Regions from separate parts of the Homo sapiens genome. Here region 1 is linked to region 2. The links are contacts of gene promoters, found by promoter capture Hi-C in blood cells and fetal thymus (Javierre and others, 2016). All regions are on one chromosome and are shown on one strand. Each heading gives the region's core, a stretch centred on a gene start or on the middle of the fragment in contact. The rest is flanking DNA. Distances are from core to core; before and after follow the strand shown. Region 1 holds the start of CELSR2 (cadherin EGF LAG seven-pass G-type receptor 2). Region 2 holds the start of AMIGO1 (adhesion molecule with Ig like domain 1).

Region 1 (4,181 bases), core at 556-3,055, 260 kb after region 2:
TGACTCGGAGTACTGGGGCCCCTGGAGTCACATCCTCCCTCACCTGGACCACATAGCGCTTCTCACTAAACTGGGGGGCATTATCATTGTCATCCTCCACAGAAAGGAAAACAGCGGCTGTGGTACTCCGAGGACCCGGGTCCCGACCCTGGTCACTTGCCTCTACCGTCAGCTGGTAGGATTCCACCTCTTCCCGATCCACAGGGCCACGGGTTCGGATCACCCCAGAGCGAGGGTCGATCTCAAAGACTTCAGAGGGGCTGCCCCCAGACCCCTCCAGCAGGCGGTACAGAATATTGGCATTGGGAGGGGCATCACCATCCGTGGCCCTGACAGTGAGCACCTCATAGCCAACCTCCAGGTTCTCCCTGAGGCTCTCCTTGTACTCCTGCTGCTCGAACACAGGGTCATGGTCATTGGTGTCAGTAACCAAGATGGTGAGTGTAGCCAGGGCACTTCGTCGGGGCATGCCGTGGTCCTGCGCCGTGACCCTGAAGACGTGGGTGCTCTTGGTCTCACGATCCAGCTCCTCGGCTGTGGTTACTGCACCAGTGACTGGGTCCAGGGAGAAGAACTGGTTGGAGCGGCTATCAAAGAGGGCATCCATGGTGTACTCCAGTCGACCTGCCTCACCCTCGTCCGGGTCGATGGCCCTCAGGGATGCAACAGGGGTGCCTGCTGGCTGGTTCTCCGGCACTGTGGCCTGGTAGCTGGGGGGCTGGAACTGGGGGGCTGTATTTACATTCCTTTTCCGACGCCCACCCAGGGACTCTTCTGGTGACCTTTCCCCTGCCCTGAGCCCGGGGGCCTGTGCCAGCTTGCAGGACTGGCATCTGAGCCGTGGAGCCTTTAAGCACGGGTGCTCCTCGGGCAGTGTGAGCTTGCCCTGTGGGGAAAGGTGGCCTCCAATGCCCAGGAGGCGACAGCTCCAGGGGCAGCCTTCAGGAGCTGGTGGTAGGGGAATATGGGCCTCGGATTCTGGACACCAAACCCTCAGGCCATCGTGGTGGGGTACCAGGTGGCCAGTCAGCTCAGTGCCCGCATCCCTGCAGCGGCTGGTGTAGAGCCAGAGGTTCGACGCTGAGGATGGACAGAGCCAGCCCATGGGGGCGCAGGCCCCCGAAGAGCCTCGTCCCCTGGACCCCAAGGAACGACAGGGCCCCACTTGGTCTCCCAATAGTGGCGGCGGCAGCAGCAGCAGCAACAGCAGCAGCAGCGGCGGCGGCGGCGTTGGGAGGGGGACGCCGGTGGCCGGGCTCCGCATCTCTCCCAGCTCCCGGCCGGCGGCCGGGTCAACGGCGGCGGCGGCTCCTCCTCCGGCTCCTGCCGGCCCCGCCGCGCCTCATGCCCGGGCCAGGGCGCCAGTCCCCGGGGGCCTCCCGTGCGCCCCGCGGGGCCTGCGTCTGGATGGCTCGGCGGGACCCCGCGCTGCACCCTCCGACGAGCCCGGGCTCCCACTGCCCCCTGAGCCAGACCCGCTCCCGGGTCACCCTGAGCACCGCGGGCTGCCGCCGCGCCTCCACCTGCGCTCCGGGCACTCACCACCTGCGCCCGGGGGCCCCGCGGCGCCCCTGGCCTTGCCGGGCCCCGGGTTCCGGAGCCGGGGTGCCCCCTCCGCCCCTATGGGATCGCCCACCTGCGCCCGCGTAGCCGTGCGCCCCGACCCCGGCCCGGCCCCGGCGGCCCCCGACGGTCCCGCGCCGCCCGCTCGCGCCCCGCGTCCCCGCCGCGGCTGCTGCCTGTCGCCGCGGCCCCGGGCCCAGCCCCGCGCTCCCTCGCCTCCCCGGCGGGCGGGCGAGCTCTGCAGAGTCGCGGCGGCGGCTCATTACCATAGACCTGCTCGCGCCGCGGCCGCCTTAAAGCGGCAACGCCGGCCGCGCTGGAGGAGGTGGGCCCCACCCAGAGCACTCCTCCGCCCAAAGCGCCAGGATTCCCTCCAGCAGGACCCTCCATCCCAATTTCCCCAGGCCGGCCTCGCCAGATGCCCGGTGCGAATTAGCGATCGGAAGCCACACAGCCGATGATAATCATGGTGGAAGTACCCTAAGTATGCCTAGAGGTTTCCAAAACATTTTAAGGGCTCTCAGAGGCCAAGTTTCCAGTTCATTCCAGTCATAAAAGCCCTCGTTGCTGTCCCCTCCCATAGGTCAGACAGAGTTAAAAGGGCCCTGAGCAACACAACAAAGCCTCCAAAATCCCAGAGAAGCACCCACAATGAGTCACCGGGCCCACTCGCTCCCTACCGTCCCCTCCACCCCACCAGCGAGGCTGTTGTCTGACCAGCATGCCCCTTGGGGTCGGGCTGTTGGAAGAATGACCCCAGCCTCATGTTGGACACCACTTGGGCTTTTCCAGGGAAGTAAATTAGAAGGGTCAGAGTGGGTGGAAGCCAGGTGGTGCAAACACACTGTCACCAGATTCGGAGGCCGGCTGCGGTGGAGCCTAGCTTTAACACAGGCTTCCTGGATTCTAGACAAGGGGCTTACACTGCCCCCTGAGGTCCTGTCTAGAGAGGCGGCCTCTCATCCCCTCCTGCCTCCCTGTCCATGTCCTGCGGCTACCCCCTCCTTCCGCCACAGTTTTGTGACCAGCGAGGAGGCCTACCTGGTACCCGGGCTCCTGACCCTCTCCAAGGCAGCTTCATTTGAGAGGGTGTGCAGGATTCCAGGGGTTCTCCAAGAGGACCAGACATGAAGCTGGACCACACGGAGAGCCAGGCAGGAGCCGTGCAGGCGACCCAGAAAAGGCTTCCCTACATCCTGGAGCAGCCAGGGGCCCAGTCAGGTAGTCCCTGGGGGGATGCCCTGGCCTGGGGGGATGCCTGGGCCTGGGTCCCAGCCTCCAACACCACAGCTATGTGACCTTGCTCAAATTCTGTGCCTCAATGTCCCTTTTTGTAAAATGAGGGGATTGAATAAGGTGAATGGTTCTCAAATGTTTATTTAGCAGTAGAATTCTTTTCTTCAAAAGAAATCTGAAGTGGAAGGCCAGAATATAGAACAGATGAGTAGTGCTGCTGGGTTGAAGTGAGGGGGTCAGGGCCTTGCCCCTCTCCACCACTCCCCCAACCAAGAAATCCCTGGGCTGCTCTGTGCAACTTGAGGGTCTGGAGGAACCCATCTGAAAAGCACTGGATCAGGTGCTCCCTTCTACCACTGCCCCCGGTCACAGTGGTGCCACTCTCACTGGGTCACAGCAGAGGATCCCCCAGCCCCAGGCCCAAGGAGTGTCTGTGTGACCACACAGTGAGGCCAAGGATGAGAAATCAGCTTTTCTCTTTTCCCCTGGGGAAACAGGAAAGGAGATGGGCCTTGGGTACAGCAAGAAAGATTAGGGTTAGACTGTGCTCCTGGCAGGATGGATAGAAGTAGGAGGAGGACCCATGGCTCAAGGAAATGCCCTCCCCTTTGACCAAACAGGAGCTTTCTTCCTCTGAGCAAGGCCAAGGGCAGCTCTGGAGATGGAGGCGTGGGTTACACGCCTCCGCAGGGCTCTGCCTCTCTAGACTTCCTCAGACTCTGGAGTTTGGAAGGATCTAGGGGCTGCGTGGGCATTTTGTTCTTCACCTAATAGCCATGTGGTGCAGAGAATGCTTGGAAATTATACCATCTGTTAATTATCCTTTGAATTGGGGTTGGGTAATGAGACTCTCATTTCTGGTGAAGGCCCAAGCCAACCCGTGGAGAAGCTGCAACTCTCCATTCATCTCGCTCCCTTTGTTGCTAAAATAAGCTTTCTGGGTGGGAGGAAAGAGTAGCCCTGGCTCTGGATCACGGAAGGTGGTTCTGGGGCCTTGCACCTTGAGGCAGGGGTTGCCAGGGAAGGCATGAGCTCAGAAGCCCCTTCCAGGTGGGTGGCCTTTCCACCCAAAGGCAGATAGGTTGGGGGATCCAAGGAACCCTTTCCTTCATCCCCAAGCACATTTGGCAAATAGTCCTTAATCCTCCCCAGTCCTCCCTCCGGGGGCACAGGACAGAGCTCTCTCCCCATCACTTCCTCAGATACTTCCAACTCCCAAAAGCAGGAGGGAAATTTCCAAGTTTCATATGCATCACTGAGAGTCTCAAATGAGGGAGGGGTTGCCCTGGTGGAGGCCTCCCTGATCCCCAGGGAAGGGCTGCCTGCTTCATGGAGCTTTCCAGTTGTAAGGAACCTATGGACCTCCCTCCTGTGTGTAAGGG
Region 2 (4,293 bases), core at 1,706-4,205:
CAAAGGGCTGGAATTACAGGGGTGAGCCACCGCACCCAGCCAAAATGATTACTTTTAAAAGGATATGGATTAGCTGAAAAAAGAGACTGATTAAAGAACATATCGTGTGGTGACCCTTCCAAATTGTAGACACCCACTCTTGAAACTGGTATCCATCATAAGGGGCCTTTTTCTTTCTATCTGTCTCTCTCCCACGCCTTGGACACAGCAGAAAGAGGAAAGGGAGGCCGGGCATGGTGGCTTACACCTGTAATTCCAGCACTTTGGGAGGCCGAGGCAGGCAGATTACCTGAGGTCAGGAGTTCGAGACCAGCCTGGCCAACATGGTGAAACCCTGTCATTACTAAAAATATAAAAATTAGCTGGGCATGGTAGCAGGCATCCGTAATCCCAGCTACTTGGGAGGCTGAGGCAGGAGAACCACTTGAACCCAGGAGGCGGAGGTTGCAGTGAGCCAAGATCATGCCACGGCACTGCAGCCTGGGTGACAACAGCGAAACTCTGTCTAAAAAATAAAAATAAAGAGGAAAGGGAGAGGAGAGAGCCTGGAACAACACTGGGGTGAAAAGAAAATATGCAACATGCAGATGAGGGGTGGGGTGAGAGGAGCATATGTTTCTCAGGAATATTTGTACAAAATAAAATGATGACATTTCTTTAATAATTATTGAAATGGGTGATGGGTATATGGGAGTTCATTGTACTATTCACTTTTGTGTATGTTTGAAAATTCTCAAAATTAAAAAATAGATGTAACTTCAGAGATGATGTGTGTGATAGCCAGCCTCCAAGATGGTCCCAATGATCCTCTCTTCCTGGTATTTGTGCCCTTGTGTAGTTCTTCCATATTGAATCAGGAATTGCATATGTGACCAAAGTGGAGGTGATATCCATCACTTCAAAGAGCCAGATCACTGTGACTTCTGTCTTGCTGTCTCTTGCATCTCTTGCTCTGAGGGAAGTCAGCTACCGTGTTGTGAGGAAACTCAAGCTGTCTTGTGGAGAGACCTTTATGGATAAGAATAGAGGTTTCCTGCCAACAGCCAGCCACATGAATTTAAGTGAGCCTCTATGGCCCCAGTGAAGCCTTCTAATGACTGTAGCTCCATCTAACGCATAACTGCATGAGAAACTGCCAAGCCAGAACTGTCCACCAGACTGCTCTTGAATCTGACCAACAGACACTGTGAAAGGCAATAAATGTATATTGCTGTAGGAAGTCACTAAGTTTTGGGGTAATGTGATTATGCAGCAATAGATAACTGATGCAATGTGATTTCAAGATTCTTCACACCTTGTCCTCCAAAAAGATTACCCTCCTCATCTTTTCAATGATGCCTGAAATGAACAGAACAGAACATCTTTCTCTTTTTTCTTTCTTTCTTTCTTTCTTTCTTTCTTTCTTTCTTTCTTTCTTTCTTTCTTTTTTTTTTTTTTTTTTGAGACAGGATCTTGCTCTGTCACCCAGGCTGGAATGCAGTGACACAAACATGGCTCACTGCAGCCTTGACCTCCAGGGCTCAAGTGATCCTCCGACCTCAGCCTCTCAAGTAGTGGGCACCACAGGTGCGTGCCACCATGCCTTTTTTTTTTTTAAGAGACAGAGTCTCACCATGTTGCCCAGGCTGCTCTCGAACTCCTGGGTTCAAGCAATCCTCCTGCCGCAGCCTCCCAAAGTGCTGGGATTACAGGTGTGAGCCACTGCACCTTGCAGAAAGACCTTTTCACACTATGCATAAGATTAACACGCTAATACTCCTTGAAGAGATAATATATTCACTAAAATTCATGGTAAAACATGTGACAGATATAAATTCTTTTTAAAACTCTTAGCAAGCTAATCTACTGAGACATTAATTTCAGTCTTGATCTTGCTGTTATAAGAGACTGGAACAAATAAAAAGGTAATTTCTTATGGTCCACCATCTCAAGAACAGCTAACATCTTGAATGATAAGGTCTAGGCTCTTCCTGCATCTCTCTCTTTCCTCACCCCCAAACCCAAACAACATACACTAGTAACAGCTTCTTGTTGTTTCAGGGGCCACCCTAAAGAAGAAACCCCTCCACCTCCACCACTGGCCTTCATCTTGAGGATTAGGTAACAGAGAAACTATGTTGCAATTGCTCCATAAGGGGAGTGGGGAGCTGGCACTGGTTTAGGAAGAAGGCAAGTGGCCAGACCTAAGGGCTGAATGACTTCCTCCGGGCTGGGAAGGGTTTCGGAGTTTCCAGGAATGGAAATTGTCCCTGGCTTGTATGCAGTCCGTGTGTGTGTGTGTGTGTGTGTGTGTGTGTGTGTGTGTGTGTGTAGCAGGTGGAGTGGGGAGAGGTGCATGAGGTGTCTGTAAAGGGGTGTTCTGGGGCCTGGGCTCACCAAACACCCCCTTTCCCCTCACTCCTGCGCAGCTGGCTTGCAGGCTAAGGAGCTGTGCCCTTCAGTGGTACCTCAAGGGTCATGAACTAGTAGCATCAAGACGGGGGTGGGGTGGGGGGAACCCCTCCCCCAATTTTTGAGACCCCACAGCCACAGAGAGAAGGGAGGGGGAACCTCAGAATGTGACTAATGAATTTCCCGCCAACATTGGCAGGCGGGAGCTGAGCCAGATTTCTTCAATTTGCGAAATTAAAAGACATGTGACGCCTCTTGCCCGAGTAGGTGCAGCGAATTCACTTTAGTTAGACTTTTCCTGAGAGCCGGTCTGTGTAGCGAGAAGGGTGCTGGGAGATGGGGGAATGGGGGATGGAGGAAGTTATAGCGGAGCCTAAGGGGCCAGTGCCGCTCTTCCTGCCAATTTTCGTCTTTAGCTCAGCGTCCGGAGCTCGCTGGTTGAGGGAACGACCCCGCGCGCGTCCGCCCGGCCGGCTCCGACACAAACACACGCACGTGCGCCCCGCCCCCGCCGCGCGCACGCGCCCCGAGGCTCCGGCGGCGGCGACGGGCGCGCGCGCGGTGCTCGCTGCCCCCACGCCGCTCCCTCCGCTGGGATCGCTGCGCCTCCGGCTCCCCGCACCGATCCGCGCCAGGCCTGCGGACCTGGAGGCAGCGACCGCGGTCGGTGGGCTCCGGCGGGCTCAGCGGTCGAGGCGGTGGCAGGGTGAGCGGAGCGGGGCCCCGCAAGTCCCCGGGAGGCGACGGTGCCGGGCGCGGGCCCCTGCGTAAGGTGGGCGCAGTGACAGGCCGGCCGGTGAGGCGCCGCCGGGAGAGGCCGCGACGGAGCTCCCAGACCGGCCATGGGCTGAGACACGTCCTCGCCGAGCAGGTGCAGTGACCGGAGGCCCCGGGGGGAGCCCGCCCCTACAGGCCCCGGGGACCCTCAACCCCGACCGGACGCGTCCTACCCAGCCCGGTGCCCTGTTGACCTTCCCTCAGCTCCTCCCAAAAGGCACACCGACCCCACCTCCAAACCCTGCCCGTGCCATCCCTGTGACTCCCAGCAGTCCCTGCCATCCTGTGCATACCTGCAGCCTGCACCCCTGTGACCCCAGCCCAGTAGGCCCTCGGGCCACCTCCTCTTCGGCCGATATTTACAGCCCACTGCCTGCACAGTGCCTGGAAACTACCCAGCATCTCTCTCTCCTAGCCCAAAGGGGGTGGAGGTAAGGGTGGGAGGGGAAGTGGGAGAGGGTGTCCTTCCCTCTGGAGTCCTTGGTGACCACAAACCCATCCTCTTTCTCTCAAGTGACCCTTCCGTACCCCACCAGAACATGCCCGGGTGACCTCCTCCCAGATCTTCCTTGTGGCCTTCCTCGCCCACTCCAGTGACACTATGCACCCCCACCGTGACCCGAGAGGCCTCTGGCTCCTGCTGCCGTCCTTGTCCCTGCTGCTTTTTGAGGTGGCCAGAGCTGGCCGAGCCGTGGTTAGCTGTCCTGCCGCCTGCTTGTGCGCCAGCAACATCCTCAGCTGCTCCAAGCAGCAGCTGCCCAATGTGCCCCATTCCTTGCCCAGTTACACAGCACTACTGGACCTCAGTCACAACAACCTGAGCCGCCTGCGGGCCGAGTGGACCCCCACGCGCCTGACCCAACTGCACTCCCTGCTGCTGAGCCACAACCACCTGAACTTCATCTCCTCTGAGGCCTTTTCCCCGGTACCCAACCTGCGCTACCTGGACCTCTCCTCCAACCAGCTGCGTACACTGGATGAGTTCCTGTTCAGTGACCTGCAAGTACTGGAGGTGCTGCTGCTCTACAATAACCACATCATGGCGGTGGACCGGTGCGCCTTCGATGACATGGCCCAGCTGCAGAAACTCTACTTGAGCCAGAACCAGATCTCTCGCTTCCCTCT

The links. Contacts are between HindIII fragments. The CHiCAGO score rates a contact against its expected background, and 5 or more counts as called.
Region 1: the fragment with the promoter of CELSR2 here is called in contact with the fragment with the promoter of AMIGO1 in region 2 in 1 of 17 cell types (erythroblasts); the score reaches 5.3 in erythroblasts.

What each region holds. Positions count from the first base shown.
Region 1 is chr1:109,247,163-109,251,343 of GRCh38, reverse strand. It overlaps CELSR2 (cadherin EGF LAG seven-pass G-type receptor 2), which reads right to left and starts at 1,805. Exons shown (of 34, transcript NM_001408.3): 1 at 1-1,805. The coding sequence starts at 1,264. RefSeq lists silencers at 158-348, 1,447-1,546, 1,707-1,766 and an enhancer at 1,768-2,488. The HindIII fragment of the contact is 8,037 bases long and covers 1-3,734 here.
Region 2 is chr1:109,508,389-109,512,681 of GRCh38, reverse strand. It overlaps AMIGO1 (adhesion molecule with Ig like domain 1), which reads left to right and starts at 2,955. Exons shown (of 2, transcript NM_020703.4): 1 at 2,955-3,262; 2 at 3,683-4,293. The coding sequence starts at 3,770. It overlaps LOC105378893 (a long non-coding RNA gene), which reads left to right. Exons shown (of 3, transcript XR_001738179.2): 3 at 2,041-2,080. RefSeq lists silencers at 2,952-3,071, 3,132-3,281, 3,292-3,351. The HindIII fragment of the contact is 14,739 bases long and covers 1-4,293 here.